Regions from separate parts of the Homo sapiens genome. Here region 2 is linked to region 1. The links are contacts of gene promoters, found by promoter capture Hi-C in blood cells and fetal thymus (Javierre and others, 2016). All regions are on one chromosome and are shown on one strand. The core of a region is centred on a gene start or on the middle of the fragment in contact, and the rest is flanking DNA. Distances in the headings are between cores, read along the strand shown. Region 1 holds the start of RMI2 (RecQ mediated genome instability 2). Region 2 overlaps CLEC16A (C-type lectin domain containing 16A).

Region 1 (5,386 bases), core at 734-3,233:
CCAGAAATTCGACCTAAGCCTTTCCGAGTCCACAGCAGCTCAGGCCAGACCACAGCCCTATCTGCCTCTAGTTAGACTCCAAGACTGAGCAGGAAGGGCCCTTAGGAATGAAGTGATCTTGGCCTGATTTCCCAGGAGAGGGAGCTGAGGTGAGGGAAGGCCCATGGAGCCTCAGAGCTCCTCAGCTTAGACCTCACATCCTCTAGAAGCCTCCCCGGGCCACTCAGCACCTTGCACATCCTCATGGCTCCCCAAAGATCAGCGATCCTCTGCGACACTTGCTCACTGCCTGTCTCCCAGCAGACTCTATCTAGGTCTCGGCTGCAGCCCAACACTGCACATGAGGGGCTGATGTACAACACGTGCTCAACTGACATCCCAGGGAACAAGTGAGATGGATGCCCATTGCCTATCACTCAAGACTATTGGTTCTTGGAGCACTTATGTGTCAGGAACTGGGCCAGATGCTGAGGATACAGTTGTCAGGACCACACAGCTCTGGCCCTCCAGTAGCTTGGGCTGGCCCAGTGGTTCTCAAAGTATGGCCCCCAAACCAGGCGTGGTGGTACAGGCCTGTAGTCCCAGCTACCCAAGGAGGCTGACGCAGGAGGATTGCTTGAGCTCAGGGCCAGCCTGGGCAACACGGTGAGTCCCCTATCTCAAATAAATAAAACATTTAAAAAGTCGAAAGTATGGTCCCCAGACCAGCAGCATCAGCATCACCTGGGAGCTGGTTAGAAATGCAAATTTCCAGCCCCACCTGGACCTCCTGACTCACAAACCCTGAGGGTGGAGCCCCAGCCATCCCAGCTTTACCAAGCCCTCCAGGAGAGACTGATGCTGGCTCAAGTTTGAGCATCAGTGGTTTAAGAGAGGAAGCAGGCAGGGCGCAGCGGCTCATGTCTGTAATCCCAGCACTTTGGGAGGCCGAGATGAGCAGATCACTTGAGGCCAGGAGTTCGAGACCAGCCTGGCCAACATGGCAAAACCCAGTCTCTGCTAAAAAATACAAAAATTAGCCGGGTGTGGTGGCACATGCCTGTAATCCCAGCTACTCGGGAGGCTGAAGCATGAGAATCGCTTGAATTCGGGAGGTGGAGGCTGCAGTAAGCTGAGGTCGCGCCACTGCACCCCATCCTGGGCGACAGAGTGAGACTCCGTCTCAAAAAAAAAAAAAAAAAAAAAAGAGAGGAGGCAAACATGAGTGAGCTACAGCCCAAGACAGTTCAATTAAGGAGAAGTACAGGAGGGTCTCCCGTTCCTAGGGGCTAGGGAGGACTTCCCTGAGAAAGGCACATTTGAGCTGAGACGTTAAGGATGAGCAGAAGTTTCCCAGGACAGTATTTCCCAAAACAAGGATATCAACTGGGAGAGGGGGCTTGTGACAAACGAAGGTGCCGGAGTCCCTCCCCAGAAGATTCCCACTAGGGGTGGGAGAGTCCCAGGAATCTGTATTTGTAAAAGGGACGGCAGGTGATGCTTATCATCAGATCAACTTCACCAAGGAGGGACCGGAGCAAGGGTACCCAAGCGGGGACCCGCAGGGGCAGAGGCCCGGAGGAGGGCCAGACCCGCCCCGCCCCCGTTCGAGTGTCAACAACAAGATCGAATCTGGCCTCGGCAACTTCTCGGCGGGCAGCAGGGAAGAGGGCGCCCGGTAAGGCCCGGGCATTACCTGGGACTAGACAGGGCCGCCCGCGCGGCACCCGCTCCAGGCCGCGGACCGAGAAGTCCCCGCTCGGGTCCCTCAGCCGAGCCTCGCCGCGGTCCGCCATCACTACCCTGCCCTGCATCCACACGGCCGCCAGGTCCAGCGGCCCGCGGCCCGCCGCCGCCCGTGACAGCCGCCACGCGCCCGGGCCGCCCTCCGCGTCGCGCCGCAGCTGCTCCGCCAGCACCTTGAGTGGCGGCGACCTCGGAAGCCGCACCCCCGCGGGGCCGCCTGAGAACGAGTCCGCAGCCGCCGCCATTCCGCCTCGCCGCACCCTTCCGCCCCGCCTCCGCTTTCCCGCCAACTTTGAGAAGCAGCGGGGCCCGGCCCTCAGCCACCAATCAGGAGCGCGCTGGCAGAGCCGGCCAATGGTCGACGTCAGAAGGCGGGACCGCCGGGCGAAGAGGCCCTCTCTAGCAGCCAGGAGTGCGCATGCGTAGATAAAAGTAAATAAACGCCCTCAAGTTAGGAATGAACGGAGGAAATGGGTTAAACGAGAATAAATAATTGAAGGCAGAGAGGTAAAGAACTTCCTCTTTCAACGCATCTCAAAATTTGGCGTGGATGCAGATCACCTACAGAGTATGATTATTCATCTTTACATTGCCTTGTTTTGAGGTTAGTAAATACTGAAACGAATTAAGAGTCCGTGTTTATTGGGAGTGAGCAAGAATCCAGTCAGGAGATAAGGCTGGGGAGGGAGACGGGGAGAGCTGGCAAACTTGCCTTTTCTTTTATTATTATTTTCAGTTATATTTTAATAGCATCAAATAATTTTAAGGTTAATAAAATATATTGCTATTTTTCAGACAAGAAATGCACATTTATTGTAAAAAAAATAGGGGAAAAATGTAGAACAAGAAAATAATTGTAAAAGCCGCTTATAGATACCCACTGTTAATTTTGGGGTATATTAGCCTTTAGGCTTTAAAATATGTGTGTGTATTTTTTTTGAGACAGGGTCTCACTCTGTTGCCCAGGATGGAGTGCAGTGGCACAGTGACGGCTCACTACAACGTTCACCTCCCGGGCATAGGTGATTCTCCTACCTCAGCCTCCCAAGTATCTCGGACTACAGGCGTGCACCACCACGTCCAGCTAATTTTTGTATTTTTTGTAGAGACAGGGTCTTACCATGTTGCCCAAGGTGGTCTGGAACTCCTGGGATCACGCAATCCTGCCTCCTTGGCCTCCCAAAGTGCTGGGATTACAGGCGTGAGCCACCATGCCTGGCCTATTACTGATATACAAATAGTGTTTTGTATATTGTTTTCACTTAATAATGAACATCTTTCTGTATCAGCAAATATCCATCTGCTTCCTCTTGAATGACTGCATAATACTCGATTTGTCTTATCACATATTAAACCAATATCCTACAGTTGGACATTAAGGCTATTTCCAATTTTTCACTTTATAAATATATCCACTGTGGACCTACTTAAAAGATAAATCTTTTTTATTTATTTATTTATTTATTTTTTTGAGACGGAGTCTCACTCTGTCACCCAGGCTGGAGTGCAGTGGCGCCATCTGGGCTCACTACAAGCTCCGCCTCCCAGGTTCCCGCCATTCTCCTGCCTCAGCCTCCCGAGTAGCTGAGACTACAGGTGCCTGCCACCACGCCCAGCTAATTTTTTGTACTTTGTTTTAGTAGAGACGAGGTTTCACCGTGTTAGCCAGGATGGTCTCGATCTCCTGACCTCGTGATCCACCCGTAAAAGCTAAATCTTTTTGTGCATCCTTCAAATAAAATTCCCAGGAATCTCTCCCTAAAAATTGGATGTCCCCAGTCAGCAAAGTCCACAGATCCTAAATCAGGCAATCCTTAAAGTCAAGGTCAGTTCTTAAGAGAAACTTTGAGTTCCCAGGGCCTCCTGCAGTACCAGGCATTCAGAGAGTATTCAGCAAGAGCTTGATTTTTTTTTTTTTTTTTTTTTGAGACGGAGTCTCGCTGTGTCACCCAGGCAGGAGTGCAGTTGTGCCATCTCAGCTCACTGCAACCTCCGCCTCCCAGGTTCAAGTGATTCTCCTGCCTCAGCCTCCTGAGTAGCTGGGACTACAGGTACACGCCACCCGCCTGGCTAATTTTTGTATTTTTTAGTAGAGACGGGGTTTCGTCATACTGGCCAGGCTAGTCTCAAACTCCTGACCTCGTGATCTGCCCGCTCAGCCTCCCAAAGTGCTGGGATTACAGGCGTCAGCCACCGCACCCGGCCAAGAGCTTCATTTTTATAAAATTGAGCCAGGTCCTATTGTAAGAACTTTGTAGGAAGTATCCCATGTACCCCCACAGACCCTGAAAAGACTGTTCCACACAGGTGAGGAAACTGAGGCTTAAGGAAGCTAGAGGGCTGGCCCATAGACTCTCAGTAGCCTCTATGAGGTTTTGGCCTCTACACCTAATATGGTTTGGCTGTGTCCCCACCCAAATCTCATGTTGAATTGTACTTCCCATAATCCCCACATATCGTGGGAAGGACCCCGTGGTAGGTAATTGAATCATGGGGGCGGATACTCCCATGCTGTTCTCGTGATAGTGAGTGAGTTCTCACAAGATCTGATGGTTTTATAAGGTGCTTTTCCCCCTTTGCTCGGCACTACTTCTTCCTGCTGCCACATAAAGAAGGACGTTTGCTTCCCTTTCTGCCATGATTGTAAGTTTCCTGAGGCCTCCCAGCCCTGCGGAACTGGAGTTAATTAAACCTCTTTCCTTTATAAATTACCCAGTCTTGGACAGTTCTTTATAGCAGTGTGAGAACAGACTAATACAACACCTCAACCCTGACCTATGAAGTAACCAGGCTCCTAGGCTGAGAAAGGAGCAGGAACATTAACCAAGAGAGAATCCAACCCGTTCATGCCTGGTGGGTCCTCACTGACCTTCCCCCGAGGTACCTTAAGGACAGAGAAGTGACGGAGAAGGGAGTTAGCGTGAAGGGAGAAGCCCCCAGGCTTCTTGTATGAGCCTGGGAATCCCCCATCATTCCCTTGGCCTCCAGATTCCCTGCACCTGCTCCCACAAGCCCAACACCATGTTGCTGGCAGAGTGATCTTTTCAAAACACAAGTCTTAGCATGTCAGCACCGGGTTTATAACACCTTGATGGTGTAATCCACACATCTGGCATGTGAGCATTCCAGGCAGAGGGAACTGCACATGGAGGGGCCAGACAGGGGAGACAAAGCAAGAAGCATGTAGCAAACTGCCAGTAGTTAAGGATGGCTGGGACACAGAGTAGAAATGGAGGACTGGGGATAGATGAGTCTGGCTCTACATAACCTCATGTCTTATCCCCATTTTACAGATGATGAAACTGAGGTTCAAGCCAATGACAAGCCTGAAGCCACATGGCTAGTGAGTGGCAGAGTCAGAACTCAAACCCAAATCCACCTGACCCCAAACTTCATGTATCTTGAACTACAGGCTCCATCTCACTGTTCACACTCTCACCCACCTCCACCCATCAAAGGTGCCTCTAGACCTTTGCTTGTGTTGTTTGTTCTCTGCCTGACATGCCTCCCCCTCAGTCGCTCTCAGTTGAAACCTGGCTTAGTCATCAAGTGCCTGCTCAGCAGCAAGACCTCTTCTCTTCACAGAGCCTTTGTTGAGCCCCACCACTGGAATTAACCTCTTCCTTCCAGACCAGTTTGGTGGTGCCCCTAATCCACAGTT
Region 2 (5,351 bases), core at 857-3,356, 290 kb after region 1:
AGTTTGAGGCTGCAGTGAGCTATGATCGCAACACTGCACTCCAGGATGGATCACAGCTCACTGCAGCCTCCAAAACAACAACAACAACAACAACAACAAAAAGGCAAAGTGGAATCCAGAGCAGCAGTGCTCAGCGTTCAGTCCTCTGGACCTTCTGGCTCAGGGGTGCGGGGGGATCTCCCAGGTGGGGCCTTCTTGGCACAGGATGCTGTAGCCCTGGCTGGGGGTGAGCACGTCAGCATCATGAAGCAACACATACACATCTGTCAGAACCAGTCCTCCAGTGAAAGCTGATGCCAGGACGTCCAGTGCAAACACTGCCACCCACAAACAGAATCGTGTGCCTGGCAGGGAGGACATGGAAGGAAGGCGTCAGTGGGCCGGACAGGGTGGGTCCTGCGGTGAGGCTTGTGGGTTTGGTCAGACAGTTGGAAATGTGGATTGACTCAAGACACATGGGTCCCACTTCCTCTGCACCCCCAGGCTTCCGAGGTAGAACCACCAGCTGCAGGGAGGAAGGTTCAGACTCCTCGTGTCTGAGGTGCAAATGACAGGTCATTCCTGTTTTGCAAAATCCAAAAGTGAAACACCTCTGTCACACACGAATTAACTCAGATGATAAAGGCTGACAAGGGGAGCTGTGTGCAATGAATTCCTCTGAACTATACACAAATACTCATGTCTCCAGTGAATGATTTTCTAGGAAAAGGTGATGGTGCTTTCTAAGAAAGAAACTCTGATCTTACCCGGGAGATAAAATACCATGAACACCCCTGAGGACACTGCTTCCTAGAGTACCTGCTTCGGAAAAAAAGGGCTGATAACGGAAGCACACACTGCAGCTGGTTCTGAGAACTAATCTTTTCACACATATCTGTCCTGCAGGCTGGTGAGATTCACATTTAATTTGACTGTGTCCCAAGAGCAGGTAGATGCCTTAACATCGCACTATCTCTGGGGGTCCTGAGACCGCTGGGCTACGATTTCACACCAACCTCACCTGCACTGGATGTACCGTGCTCACCCCCGATGGTTCACAGAAAACTGGCCCCATTGCCTTACACTCCTGAGCTCAGGGCTTGTCTGTCTGCACTGGTGAAGGCTACCTCTCTGCAGCCAACACTGGGTGCCAGATGCAACGGAATGCCAAACCCTACTTCCCAAAGGGTAAAAACATGCCTTGGAAAGTCATGCCTGGGGGCAAATGGGTACTCTCTATCCACTGTCTAAGCTGTGTTGAGGGCAGGCTCTTGACTTTGACAAAGAAGCCCTTTCCTCCCTGGTCTGGGAGTGGTTCTGGAGAACAGTGGCCCAGGAGATGACAGGTCCTGTGCTCACTCACCCGCCGGGTCTTCTCCACATCGCCACACGGCAGCCGCTTCACGAAGTCAATGCCCGTCAGTGGCGTGCCTGTTGGGGGCAGCAGGATGGAGGCGTCCATCATGAGATATTCCACGTTCATGGGCTTCATCTAGAAGAGACATTACAGGAAACCTCAAAGCAGATTCCTTACTTGGAAGGAGGAAGGGGCCGGGGGAGGTTGCACAGGCCCCTCGCCTTCAACCGCATTTAGTAAATGTAAATGAGTGATCTAAATCCTGGATTTAGATTGAAGTAAAGCACAGAGGCAGCCAGATAAGGGAGCAATATGCCTTTTGGTTTTCTAAATTGCAGATTTTTCCTTTAATTGAAGCAGCAGCTCAGACTCTTGAGAAGTTGCATCCTTGCTGTGAAAAGCTTGCTCCTCTTCGCATTCTCTCTCCACCTCAGCAGGGACAGGGATTCTCAGCAGGAGGCCAGGTATGCTTTATCCCTGTGGGTGCAAGCCCGTCTGCCACCTGCTTCCTCCTCTCTGTCCTTCCAGTGATGATAACAGCTATGGCGATGGCAGCTTCCGTTTAACGAGAGCTGATTCCGCTGCAAGCTGTGACCTAAGGGCTTTTGAGGAGCTGCTTCCCACTTTGCTGATGAGGGAACACAGTCTCAGAGAAGCAGAAAAATGGATCCAAGGTCGCTCAGCTGGTGGGTGGCAGAGCCAAGACATGAGCCCAGGCCTGTCTTGCTCCAGGGCCTCTGTGATTCCCACCCTAGGACCAATGTTTCCCCTTCCTTCCTTGTCCCCTTCACATCTTACCTGGGATAATATAACACAATCATTATTGGAGCATCTACTAAGTGCCAGGCACGTGCTGGGATCACCTCCTGCTGGACGGCAGGTGCTGGTGGGCCCATCATAAAAGGGACACTGAGCTCAGAGGAGGAAAGGCGCATGCCCACGGCCACTGGGCCAGAGCTGACGGCCTCTTTCCACACCACCTCTGCGAAGCCTTCTTTGAGGACTAAGACACAGGGTGACATCCCCTCCCTGCCACCTCTCCCAGATCTCTGCTGCATCAGTAGTAGTAATCAATGCACACGTGTTGTTGAACACTAACATTTCATTTCCCTGGCTTCACAGACGAAGGGTAAGCTTTCTGCAGAATTCATTTTACTCTTTCAAACATCACAAGCTTTCCTTGTGTCTTCTCTTTTCAGAAAGTGGGCTTCAAACATACCACTTTCCCCCTCCTGCTAGGTAAAGCTGACTACATAGGGCAGGGATGTAGCGAGGGCTCAGTGGCCCAGATACCTGGTGCTATGGTTTGAACGTGTCCCCCATAGTTCATGTGTTGGAAACTTAATCCCCAGTGTGACAGTGCTGAGAGGTAGGGCCTAACAAGACGGGATTGGGTCTCATGAATGGAGTAATGTTGTTATTGCAGGTGTGGCTCAATGATGGTGAGAGTGACTTTGTTATAAGAGTGAGTTCTGTTCCCTCTTGCTCTGTCTTGCCCTTTCGCATTCTACCATGGGATGATGTGGCAAGAAGGCCGTCGCCAAATGCTGGCACCTGATATTGGACTTCCCAGCCTCTAGAACTGTAAGAAATTTCTTTTTTTTATAAATTAAGTCTGTGGTATTCTGTTATAGCTGCAGAAAACATACTGAGACACCCGGTGAATGGGCCAGAGGGCCAAGGAGCCACTTGGTGCATGCTGCTTGCCTTCTTCTTTTGGACACTTTAAGTACTTTCCTCCAGAAGCCTGAGGTCCCCCACTCCAAATCCTCTAACCCCGCAGGGGTGGCAGTTCCTGCCTCACTCATTCACTTGCAGCTCCCTTCCCCTCTACTCCTGCTGCCCCCTACAACCTTCCCAGTGAACCCCTCAGGCCTGCTGGGGGCAGAGCTAGGCCATCACCTCACTGAACCTTTTGCATTAAACCAGAGGCAATAAGGGAAATGAAGGAAAGGTCACAAGTCATGGTCTGACTTTGGTACAGCAGCTGGCCTTGGAGGGCCTGTCCCCACCCCCTTCCACTCAGAAGCTGCATTCCTGAAGGCTGAGGACTGATTTTCAGATACAGAGCAAGGGCGTGGCACCTTTGTATTTCTCTGGAATGCCAGGCATTGTATAGGACACACAATACATGTTTGATTAAAACAAACAAACAAACAAACAAACAAAAAAACCTGGGAAGCTCCCCATGGTGGGAGGGGGAGGAAGTATTTGTTGTGTATAGACCCATGAGTATTTGTTGTTGTGTATGGACCCATGAGGCCTCTTGTTGGCTATTTCATATACAGCCTGGGTGGCTATGAGGTAGGGATCCCCCACCTTACGGATTTAAAAAAAAAAATTGCCAGGTGCGGTGGCTCACGCCTGTAATTCCACCACTTTGGGAGGCCAAGGCGGGCGGATCACGAGGTCAGGGGTTTGAGACCAGCCTGGCCAGCATGGTGAAACCCCGTCTCTACTAAAAATACAAAAATTAGCTGGGCGTAGTAGTGGGCGCCTGTAATCCCAGCTACTCGGGAGGCTGAGGCAGGAGAATTGCTTGAACCCAAGAGGCAGAGGTTGCAGTGAGCCGAGAACGCACTACTTGCACTCCAGCCTGGGCGACAGAGCAAAACTCTGTTCGAAAAAAAAAAAGAAAAAAATCAAGGCTCAGAATTTCAGCAATGCACTCAAGGTTGCATTGTCAAAAGCAGACACTGAGCAGGGGTTTAAGAGCTCAAGCTTTCCCACATGGTCAAGTGCCATAGAAGCCTGACATTTCCAAACAGGAAACCAAACTGTAGGAAATGACATTGCAGGGGGATGTCTCGGGGGTAAGAGGAAATAACAAATGACAACTGAATCCCTTCCACTCTAATGAATGGTCTGAAGGGTGGAAGACTGAGCCTCTCTCGAAGGGGCTGGAGGAATGATGAGGGGCTGTAGATGAGCAGCCCACGGGGGCCTGGCACAGGGTGCTGCTGGGGTGTTTCTGGAGATGACTTATGCCAATTTACACCTTTCCCCTGAAAAGGCTCCACGGCAGCCTCAGACATGCAGTGACAAAGGACGTGGTGAGGGCCCAGCTGTCCCGATTCCTAGGGAATGGGCTGCGAAGCCAAGGAGCCAATTAGTGCACGCTGCCTTTTTCTTTTTGACACTTAAAACACTTAGGTTTATTATAAACTTCCCAAATCACACATGCTTTGGTGGGTAATATCCACAAGAAGGATCACTTATCACGTACTTATGGAGTACCTAGCCAAGGGCAGGTGCTGGGATAACAGAGACAAACGCGCAAAGCAGAGAAAGCTGGGATCTTCTGAACCTATGGCTTCCCGCGATTCTGCCTGCGGGAGGAGGAAGGAAGCCCATGTGCTGGCACTACAGACTGGAGGGAGAGCTGCATGCTGAAACATTCCAGTGGAGCAGCAAACAGGGAGGCAGGGACATAATACATGGAGAAGCACGGGGGATGCGGGGCTGGGCTGTCCTCCTCTAGAAGCGTGGCTCTGCCACTCACCGGCCGGGCAGACTTGGGTACATCACTAGACCTCTCTGACTCAGTTTCCTCATTAGCAAGTGATATGGTTTGGCTCTGTGTCCTCACCCAAATCGCACCTTGAATGGTGAGACACATGAGAATCCCCACGTGTCAAGGGCAGAACCATGTGCCGGTAACTGAATCATGGGAGCAGTTTCCCTTATACTGTTCTCATGATAGTGAGTAAGTTCTCATGAAATCTGATGGTTTTCTAAGCATCTGGCATCTTTTCTCCTTGCACTAATTCTCTCTCCTGTCACCCTGTGAAGAGGTGCCTTCCACCATGATCGTAAGTTTCCTGAGGCCTCTCCGGCAATGTGGAACTGTGAGTCAATTAAACCTCTTTTCTTTATAAATTACCCAGTCTTGGGTATTTCTGCGTAGCAGTATGAGAAGAGACTAATTCAGCAAGAAAGGGACAATGGCAGTAGCTATTACCGTTGGTTGGTGTGAGGATGAAGAGATATAATCTGTACAGCATGCTATATACAT

Evidence for each region. The method cuts DNA at HindIII sites, captures the fragments that hold promoters and counts their contacts. A CHiCAGO score of 5 or more calls a contact.
Region 2: a contact is called between a fragment that was not itself captured here and the fragment with the promoter of RMI2 in region 1, in 6 of 17 cell types (activated CD4 T cells, naive CD8 T cells, fetal thymus and 3 more). The highest score is 17.2, in activated CD4 T cells.

What each region holds. Positions count from the first base shown.
Region 1 is chr16:11,342,056-11,347,441 of GRCh38, reverse strand. It overlaps RMI2 (RecQ mediated genome instability 2), which reads right to left and starts at 1,983. Exons shown (of 2, transcript NM_152308.3): 1 at 1,676-1,983. The coding sequence starts at 1,970. All of the region lies in intron 1 of LOC105371082 (a long non-coding RNA gene), which reads right to left. It overlaps LOC105371083 (a long non-coding RNA gene), which reads left to right and starts at 2,230. Exons shown (of 2, transcript NR_135174.1): 1 at 2,230-2,329; 2 at 5,019-5,386. RefSeq lists silencers at 1,655-1,734, 1,755-1,914. The HindIII fragment of the contact is 15,776 bases long and covers 1-5,386 here.
Region 2 is chr16:11,047,633-11,052,983 of GRCh38, reverse strand. CLEC16A (C-type lectin domain containing 16A) reads right to left here. Exons shown (of 24, transcript NM_015226.3): 18 at 1,343-1,471. Among named protein-coding and RNA genes, the nearest start is that of CLEC16A, 110 kb to the right of the region's middle. RefSeq lists enhancers at 336-485, 1,498-2,075, 2,076-2,652. The HindIII fragment of the contact is 733 bases long and covers 1,740-2,472 here.